Linked DNA regions of Homo sapiens: regions 1 and 3 are each linked to region 2. The links are contacts of gene promoters, found by promoter capture Hi-C in blood cells and fetal thymus (Javierre and others, 2016). All regions are on one chromosome and are shown on one strand. The core of a region is centred on a gene start or on the middle of the fragment in contact, and the rest is flanking DNA. Distances in the headings are between cores, read along the strand shown.

What was found. The method cuts DNA at HindIII sites, captures the fragments that hold promoters and counts their contacts. A CHiCAGO score of 5 or more calls a contact.
Region 1: a contact is called between a fragment that was not itself captured here and the fragment with the promoter of GPR183 in region 2, in 5 of 17 cell types (monocytes, naive CD4 T cells, total CD4 T cells and 2 more). The highest score is 6.6, in monocytes.
Region 3: a fragment that was not itself captured here is called in contact with the fragment with the promoter of GPR183 in region 2 in 1 of 17 cell types (non-activated CD4 T cells); the score reaches 5.8 in non-activated CD4 T cells.

Annotation. Positions count from the first base shown.
Region 1 is chr13:99,195,334-99,198,801 of GRCh38, forward strand. It overlaps UBAC2-AS1 (UBAC2 antisense RNA 1), which reads right to left. Exons shown (of 2, transcript NR_036531.1): 2 at 1,041-2,469. Among named protein-coding and RNA genes, the nearest start is that of UBAC2-AS1, 3.7 kb to the right of the region's middle. The HindIII fragment of the contact is 845 bases long and covers 1,677-2,521 here.
Region 2 is chr13:99,305,465-99,308,792 of GRCh38, forward strand. GPR183 (G protein-coupled receptor 183) reads right to left here and starts at 1,935. Exons shown (of 2, transcript NM_004951.5): 1 at 1,876-1,935. The region is part of intron 4 of UBAC2 (UBA domain containing 2); the gene reads left to right. The HindIII fragment of the contact is 4,315 bases long and covers 1,403-3,328 here.
Region 3 is chr13:99,213,359-99,216,405 of GRCh38, forward strand. All of the region lies in intron 1 of UBAC2 (UBA domain containing 2), which reads left to right. It also overlaps the pseudogene H2AZP3. Among named protein-coding and RNA genes, the nearest start is that of UBAC2, 14 kb to the left of the region's middle. The HindIII fragment of the contact is 9,244 bases long and covers 1-3,047 here.

The DNA.
Region 1 (3,468 bases), core at 849-3,348, 110 kb before region 2:
TCACCCAAATCTCATCTTGAAGTGTAATCCCGAGGTGTCTAGGGAGAGACCTGGTGGGAGGTGACTGGAGCATGGGAACAACCATGCTGTTCCCATGATAGTGAGTTCTCATGAGATCTGATGGTTTTACAAGGGGCTCTTCCCCCTTCACTCGGCACTTCTCTCTCCTGACACCTTGTGAAGGACGTGTTTGCTTCCCTTTCTGCCATGGTCGTAAGTTTCCTCAGGCCTCCGCAGCCATGTGGAACTGTGAGTCAATTAAAACTCTTTCCTTTATAAATTACTCAGTCTTGGCCGGGTGTGGTGGCTCACACCTGTAATCCCAGCACTTTGGGGGGCCGAGGCGGGTGGATCACCTGAGGTCAGGAGTTCGAGACCAGCCTGGTCAAAATAGTGAAACCCTGTCTCTACAAAAAATACAAAATTAGCCAGATGTGGTGGCGGGCGCCTGTAATCCCAGTTACTAGGGAGGCTGAGGCAGGAGAATCACTTGAACCCGGAAGGCGGAGGTTGCAGTGAGCCGAGATAGCGCCAGTGTACTCCAGCCTGGGCAACAAGAGTGAGACTCCATCTCAAAAAAATGAAAAATAGGCCGGGCGCGGTGGCTCACACCTGTAATCCCAGCACTTTGGGAGGCTGAGGCGGGTGGATCACGAGGTCAGGAGATCGAGACCATCCTGGCTAACATGGTGAAACCCCGTCTCTACTAAAAAATACAAAAAAGAATTAGCCGAGCGTGATGGCAGGCGCCTGTAGTCCCAGCTACTTGGGAGGCTGAGGCAGGAGAATGGCGTGAACCTGGGAGGCGAAGCTTGCAGTGAGCCGAGATTGCGCCACTGCACTCCAGCCTGGGCAACAGAGCCAGACTCCGTCTCAAAAAAAAAAAAAAAATTAATTAAAAAATAAATCAATAAAAAAATTACCCAGTCTTGGGTATTTATAGCAGTGTGAGAAGAGACTATTGCACCACACTGAACAAGTGTCATGAATAATTTTTTCTTTAACCTTACCCACCTGGAGATTTTCCTGATGCTAAGACCTCAGAAATGCTGTTTTATTTTATTGAAGGAGGACAATGGCTTCACATCAGAATGAGCAGGATACAACATTTTGAAAGACACATTCCCTGTTTTTTATGGGCTCACCCTTTCACAGTAGAAGACAGAAACCCAATAACAGAGACAATGGCATAAGTATTATAAAGTAGGCATGCATCAAGTGTGATGACAGCACGAAAGAGGGGATAACTACTTCTGCCATTACAGTCTGGAAGAGGTATCATTTCAGCTGATATTGTGGCAAAGTATTTTACCCAGCAGAGGGAGTATCCACTCAATGATGTTCTTAAAGTACCTAGGTAGGAGTGCTAGGCAGCAAATGATTCTCTTAATGTGTATGTCCACACATTGTTATGTGTAAGTAGCCTTATTAATTTGGTTGTAAATAAAAGGTTGAGTAATAATAAAAATGAAATCACCAAATTCTACAATTTGACCTCAAAATATGCTGTAAGTTCTGATATTATTCCTACTTTACCTGGGAAGGCAGAGCGGTTACCTAGGAAGGTGAACTGTGGAAGTCCGCTGTGGATTGGGGATACCTGATCTCATGATGAGTCAGGCTTACCCTGACTCCTTCTGGGTCTCTCTGGTGGAGACAGCCCTTCACCTCTGCAAAGCTTATCCACGTGTCTGGTGATTTCCTTATAGCATACAGAGCTTTTAAGGTTTACAAACGTATACCTATTTCCCCAATGTAGAAAGCAGATTCAAAAACAGGTTCAACAAAACATAGCAAGGCAATAGGTGATTCCTAGAGACCAACAGATTGAGTTCTTGTAATAAAATCTAGAAAAGAGAAAAGGTGGAAATGTCAGCCAGGGCAACAGAAATGATATGCACCAGGAGATCCAGGAATTCATAGTAAAGGTCAGATGAGTTTCACAGGTGTAGGGTTTCCTCTACCTCTGCACTACTGACAATCCAGGCGGGGTAATTCTTTACTGTGGGCAGGAGGAGGGGGGAGGTTGGCCCGGTATTGCCAGATGTTTAGCAGCACCCTTGGCCTCAGCCCATTAGATGCCAGTAGCACCCTCTCCCCAGCACGTTGTGACACCCAAAAATGTCTCCAGATATTGTCCCCTGGAGGTCAAAATTGTCCCCCTGCGAATCACTACACTAGTGCATCTCAGACTCTAAGGTGCACACAAATTACCTGGGGTGTCTTGTTAAACGCCAGTTCTGCTTTAATAGGTCTAGGGTAGGGCTTGGCACTTTCTAGTGCAAACAAAATCCCAGGTGAGGCTGAAGCTGCCTGTCCACAGACCACACTTGCTCCTTAGAAGACAAATCTGCAGCCACCAGTTAGCATGTTCAGGTCCTCAGGATGCAGAGTAGATGTACAATCAAGGTATGGATCACTGCAGATACTTATGAGCAGAGTCTGGATGCCATACCATCTTGCATTTAGCTGCAAAGAATGTTTATAGAATTGAACGTAAGTGAAGGGTTTATGTTTTTTAAGCTTTAAAGCACTTTTTAATGTCGGTTCTCAAACTTTTTGGAATCCCTTTATTCTTAGAAATTATTAAGAACTACAGATCTTTAGTTTATGTGGGTTTATACCTATGAGTATTTACCATAGTAGAAATTGAAACTGAGAAATGTAAAAGATATATATGAAGTTCATTAAAAAAAATACCCATTACATATTAACATATCTAACACTTTTTAATGCAAAATTACTATACTGTCCCAAGCAAAAAAATATTGGAAGAATAGCACGGTTTAACATTTTGGCAAATGCATGCACGTATGTATGTATGTATGTATGTATTTATTTATTTATTTTGAGATGGGGTCTCTCTCTGTCCCCCAGGTTGGAGTGCAGTGGCACAACCTTGGCTCACTGCAACCTCTGCCTTTGGGTTCAAGCGATTCTCATGCTTCAGCTTCCTGAGAAGCTGGAACTTCAGGTGTGCACCACCACACCCAGCTATTTTTTGTACTTTTTGTAGAGACAGGGTTTCGCCACGTTGGCTAGGCTGGTCTCAAACTCTTGACCTCAAGTGAACCGTCTGCCTCAGCCTCCCAAAGTGCTGGAATTACAGGCCTAAGCCACTGTGTCTGGCGGGCAAATGTCTTTAATGTCTGGTTCAATAGAAAACAGCTGGGTCCTCATATATGCTTCTGCTTTCAGTTTGTTGGGATACATTGCTTTGGTTGAAGCATATGAGGAAAACCTGGCTTCACCTAGATACACCCCCACGGTTGGAAAAGGAAGCATTTTAATAGCCTTTCAGGTGATACATTATTTTTTGATACTATACGATAACTTAGCAAGTGGTAGTTTCTTAAAGGTTAATTGCAGTGAGGAATCTGAAACCATATGAATGAACATTTTGGACTGTTACACTAAAGTTTACTGGTGTATTTTATGGTTCAAATTAATCTTTTACCCACATAAGAT
Region 2 (3,328 bases), core at 685-3,184:
GCGAAGCTCTTTTAAATGTAAGCTTCTTGAGGATGATGACTTGATCTCATCCAACATTTTATCCTATAGAATGCTACAGAACCAACCTACAATAGATATCTAGTAAATATCTATAGAATAAATAAATGAATTAAAGTCATATAGAAACCTGAGTTAATATTTATTCCATTAACTGACTGGTCATGGTACTAATTAGCTCTAGGAAGCCAGATGAAAGTAATTTATGCAAGGGATCATTACCATTGTCACTAACGCGATACATAAACATGTGAGTGAACATTTTGTGGAGTAGCATATTCTTTGTGGTTTTATGTCCAAAAAGTGCAGTGAACCCGCAGAGAGAAAACATGCTAAAATATAAGAAGTGTGCAGTCCTACCAGTAAGCACAGTTAGATGTGTGATCATCCATAGACTCAGGGCCATTTATTTATTTATTTATTTATCTATCGAGACAGAGTCTCGCATGGTCGCCCAGGCTAGAGTGCAGTGGCGCAATCTCGGCTCACTGCAACCTCCGCCTCCCAGGTTCAAGGGATTCTCCTGCCTCACCCTCTTGAGTAGCTGGGATTATAGGTGAGTGCCACCGTGCCTGGCTAACTTTTATATTTTTAGTAGAGATGGGGTTTCACCATGTTGGCCAGGCTGGTCTCGAACTCCTGATCTCAGGTGATCCGCCTGCCTCGGCCTCCCAAAGTGCTGGGATTACAGGAGTGAGCCACCACACCCAGCCTGATTCAGGGTCTTTATGTAAAATATCCATAACATATCTGTTGGATTCACCCTCTGGTACGTCAGTGGCCAGAGAGATGGGAGAAGAATGATGGGAGACAGTTTTTTAGCACTTATAATGAGAGGCAATGTTGTAAGGACTTGGCAGTAGTAATACTCCCCATTTTACAGGTAAAGCAGCTGAAGCCAGATATTAGGTAACTTGTGTGTGGGGGGGCCACACAGCTTGTAAATTTCATTTGATCCTGATTTCAGAGCCCTTGCTCTTATTACACTATATTGTACTCAGAGTGACACCAAAAAAACAAAATACCACGCCCCCCTCCCCCAACACACACACAAACACACATATATAAAACCCTCACTGCCCTTTAAAGGAAGTCTCTTCACAGCTTCTATTTTGCCAAGTTTCTGTTACCACCATTCCCAACCTGGACATAAATGTTGCCAAAGCACTGCATAGAATTCATTGTGATTTTTTCCCCTCAGGCACATAGAAAAGATACGTTTAGTCTAAGTAAACACAAGTATAAACCACACAACAGACTTTTTTTTCACTTATCTAATTAGTAGTATTTAGCATTTAAAAAGCAAAGATTGGTACTCTTTGCTGGCGGGAGGGTAAATTGGTAAAATGTTTTTGTAGACCAAAAAGTACCGTTTTATATCTAAAGCTTTAGAAAATATACCCTTTGCCCTAGGAATTCTACCCCTGAGATTCTATCCTGAGAAATAATCTTATATTTCTAATAATTCCTATAGCATAGGAATATTCTATATTAAAATAACTTTGTTCCTTTTCCTTCATACTAAGTTATCCTGAAATATTGGCATTATTTGCATAGTTTTGCTTGATACTGTCTTTTGTCATTGTGAGTTTATACAGTAGTACATGAAGTGAGCCCTATTTTTTGACAAAGATATTTCTGGTGGACCCATCGCTTTCAGTCAACTTTATAAGAACTAACTAGACCTACCAGTCAGCAGAGAGAGTAAACTTACATTATTAATATAATTTTTGTTAGAAGTGATGGTAGCTTGTTCTTAAATAGATTGTTTTCCTTTTTACCTTTTACCTTAAAACTTAGGCTTTTAAAGTTTTTCTTTAAAAAGTTTGTTGAAAAAGCAAAAGATCTTGTACTTACATATCAGTGACTCGTTCGGGTCTCTGTGTAGTAGCTGTGAGTAGTTGTCCAAACTGAAGTAAGTTTTAACTGTGGCATGTTGTTTTAAGAGAGGCTGTGCAGACCTCCTTTTATGGTGGTGACTTTTTTTTTCTCTGTCACCCTGTGACTGAGCATGTAATGAGCAGTTAGCCTCGTGTACGTGTGTGCACTTTGTGTTTTTTTTTGTTTTAAATGGGAAGTGAAATTTTTTATAGTGATTAAAAAAAACTATCCAAAAGCCCCTTGGAATTTATGAATTGTTGATATCTGTGGAACTTTATAAATTTTTCTGTAAAGGTTTAAGTATCAAAAAATTCTTTGAAAGAGACTGAAGCAATAAACCTTAACCAAAAAAAAGACCAAGTTACTGATGATTTTATATTGATTTTGCATGTAAAAGTATGGGTTTTTAAATGTTTTAAGGAAAATAGTGTCAACTTTGACAGTGCTTTTTACCTGGAAACTTGGTATCAGGGAGTAGTTTACACATTCCACCTTATCCACAGCTTATGAGAAAGAAACAGGTTTCTGTGGCGTGGGGGTGAGTGACAGTCCAGGATGTGGAGTGGACTGGATTAGTCGCCGTTTTCAGTCGAGAGGCTGCCTGAGTCAGAGGCTGTGTGAGTACTTGAATAACAGGGAAACAGTTGAAGGGAGGCCCATTATAGATAAAATCCAGCCTCTTCAGCACAGGGTGAAAGAGACTCATGCCATTCACCTCATAGTTGTAGTTGACTCAGTTTAAACCAACTAACGTGTCTGTCAGAATGCAGTTTATTTGTAGGCTAAATTACCAGATATGTAGCACTCAGATCAGGAGAGGTGATGTTTACACTTAGTCAGGACTGATCTGGCCATTCCCAGCCACTTCTGGGTGCTGCTTTTTACGAAGACATAGATAACACCTGTGGCAGTGAGGGGCCTGGATAGCAGGTCTTAGGAGAACTGATTAAATAAGCTGGGGATGTGTATGCTTTGTAGGCATAGGGTCATTATCCTTATGCTTGTGGAAACTCTCATAGAAAAGTGTTTACATTGCTTGTGTCAGTCTTCCTAACTCCAGAGACTAGCGGGAGGGTCAGTAAGAAGTTACTGGACATAGCTTTTGGATCAAAAGATGAGAGTCATTCCCAAAAGTTGTGATTATTTTGAAAAATGGAATATGCTGTTTCTTATTTAGATGCTTGAGTAAACTTGATGATTTTGAGGGATGATGTAAACAGAATTGAATCATTTGGTAGGAATTTGTAACTCTGTGATCTCAGAAGCCTTTCTGCTCCAGGATTCTGTAAAAATAGTCGAGTAGCTTTTGCCTCCCACAGATGTCATTAGGTTCTTCTAACGTCTAAAGTGCTGTGAGTATGGAGGAACATTGTCAGACACAAGAAAGAGCATCAAGCAAGTCAGCTGAATTCTTTGGGCCGCCACCTCA
Region 3 (3,047 bases), core at 49-2,548, 93 kb before region 2:
ACTTTTTTTTTGTTTTTTTTGAGACAAGGTCTTGCTCTGTCGTCCAGCCTGGAGTGCAATGGTGTGATCTCGGCTTACTGCAACTGCTGCCTCCCGGGTTCAAGTGATTCTCCTGCCTCAGCCTCCCGAGTAGTTGGGATTACAGGCACCTGCCATCATGCCCAGCTAATTTTTGTATTTTTGTAGAGACAGGGTTTTACCATGTTGGCCAGGCTGGTCTTGAACTTCTGACCTCAGGTGATCCGCACGACTCAGCCTCCCAGAGTGCTGGGATTACAGGCATTAGTCACTGCACCCGGTCGATTATAACATTTTATCGTACTAAAATAAGTTTTTTTTGCAGTATTTTCCCGTTAGAAACACTTAGAACATCTTTGTAACTAAGTTATTGATTGCATCTTTAACCCCATTTTAAAGAAATAATCATAAATGTTGAATTATAGAATCAAAAGATAAGAATATTTTATTTTATTTTATTGTAGACAGAGTCTTGCTTTGTCGCTCAGGCTGGAGTATAGTGGCGTGATCTCAGCTCACTGCAAGCTCTGCCTCCCAGGTTCAAGCGATTCTCCTGTCTCAGCCTTCTAGTAGCTGGGATTACAGGTGTGCACCACCACACCTGGCTAATTTTTGTATTTTTAATAGAGATGGGGTTTCACCATGTTGGCCAGGCTGGTCTCGAACTCCCAACCTCAAGTGATCTGCCTGCCTCATCCTCCCAAAGTGCTGGGATTACAGGCGTGAGCCACCGCACCTGGCCTGATTGTGTATTTATTGTAGAGCCAGGGTTAGAACTTAGGTCAGAAAACCTGTCCTGCTGTTTCTTCAATCTTGTATCATTTTTTGCCTTGGCATCTTTGGTTTGTTTTTTTTTTTTTTTTTCCTGGAATCCCTCCTGGAGTAAATTTTTTTCGTGTAAGGACACGAGTGGTGAACTTCTGGATCTTGCTTGGCCGTTCTTGTGCAGTCCTGAATGACTGGATTCCTAAGTACCTAGTGTGGGTTTCCTCTTTGTTTGTGGGTACAGCCTTTTCCCGCAAGAGGCTCAAACTTGAAATGGCAGGGCTGACTCTAGGTTCTCTTCTAGTATGCAAGGAATATGAATAGGCTGGTTTGCATATAGGTTGCAGAGGTGGGGAGTAGGTGGTGGTGGGGGAAGCAGGACTGTGAGAACCCCCTGCAGTCGTCAAAGGGTGGCTCATTGCTTTCTGTGGCTTTTACTCCTGAGTGAAGCTGCCTTTCTTATTACCCTCCTTGTCCGTTCCCCGTCACCTGTGCTGTGATCTGGTTTGGAAGTTTGAAGTTACCCCAAGCTCTCTTCTACTTTTTTGCAGACCTCCAACCCCCTCATTGTTCTCCTTAAGCAGATTGTCCCCCACCCCACCCTTTTTGGAGAGTTTCTAGGATTTTATTTTGGGGGAATAAATAAATTTCTTTCCAACTGGGATGGTGGTGAAAAGGCTGTTTGTAGACTGTGGGTGGGGAAGGGTTTGAGGCCCCACTGCTGTCATGCTTGTTCGGTGGCATTTGCACCACTGGAGATGATTTTAGACAGGGTGTCAGCCCAGCAGTAAACATCATTGAAATAGAAGTCAGGTCATGACTCCCTTTTCAGTTCTTTTCTTTTTGTTTTTTTTTTTTCTTGGGGGATATGACCTTTATTGAGCTTATCCACCACAGTGGAAATAATGTCTGTACAAAGCCAAATGTTTGTTACTATAACTTCTGCATTACAATTAAAATCCAAACAGTTTTTTAAAAACAGTCAGCTCAATCAAAGCCCAGTACTTCAGAATCAATAGCTTCCTTGAAGCCACAGTATCACTTAAATATGGTTAAGACTCAAATGCAGAAATTTGGTTGGAAAGCTAATTAAACTTCCAACTTGCCCAAATAGAATTACAAAAAGACAAAATTGTGTTTTTCACAGAAATATAGTCCACTGGCATCACCAACACTGGACAGCTGTTCTTTTATTTAGAGTCCTGAGATAACAAGGAATCCAGGCATACATTAGACAGTCTTCTGTTGTCCTTTCTTCCCAATCAGAGATTTGTGGATGTGTGGAATGACACCACCACCAGCAATTGTAGCCTTGATGAGAATCCAATTCTTCATCTGCACGAATAGCAAGTTGCAAGTGACGAGGGGTAATATACACTTTACCTTTAAGTCTTTTGATGCATTTCCTGCCAGTTCAAGTCCCTCTGCGGTGAGGTACTCCAGGATGGCTGCGCTGTACACAGCGGCAGTTGCACCCACATGTCTGTGACCCGTCGTCCTAGATTTCAGGTGTTGATGAATACAGCCCTCTGGGAACTGCAAGCCGGCTCTCTGCGAGCGGGAAACCGCCTTTGTCTTGGCCTTTCCGGAGTCCTTCCCAGCCTTACCGTCAGCCATTTCGAGTTCTGCTGAAGCTCAAGCAAGGCAGAGAAAGGGCTAATCAGACCCGTGGTGAGATCCCACCATCTACTCCTTCATCGCACCGTGATTCAAACTGCCCTTTTCAGTTCTTACTATTCCTGATCGGATCAAAGAGAAAATCTTGATGTGGTGCTAGTCTGAAAGACCTCTCTAATAAAGGCTATTTTCCTATTGTAACAAAAAGAGCAGGAAGTAATATTAGTCTTTAATAACTTTGTTTTGTTATAGGTTGGTGCAAAAGTAATTGCGGTTTTTGCCATTAAAGGTAAAATGGCAATTACTTTTGTACCAACCTATATTTGTGTGTGTGTGTGTGTGTGTGTGTGTGTGTATTTTTGAGACACAGTCTCACTCTGACGCCTCAGCTGGAGTGCAGTGGTGCAATCTCGGCTCACTGCAACCTCTGCCTCCCTGGTTCAAGGGGTTCTCATTCCTCAGCCTCCGAAGTAGTAGCTAGGATTATAGATGCCCGCCACCACACCTGGCTAATTTTTGTATTTTTAGTAGAAACAGGTTTTCACCATGTTGGCCAGGCTGGTCTCAAACTCCTGAACTCAGGTGATCCGCTCACCTTGGCCTCCCAAAGTGCTGGGATTACAGGTGTGAGCCACCGTGCCCGGCCC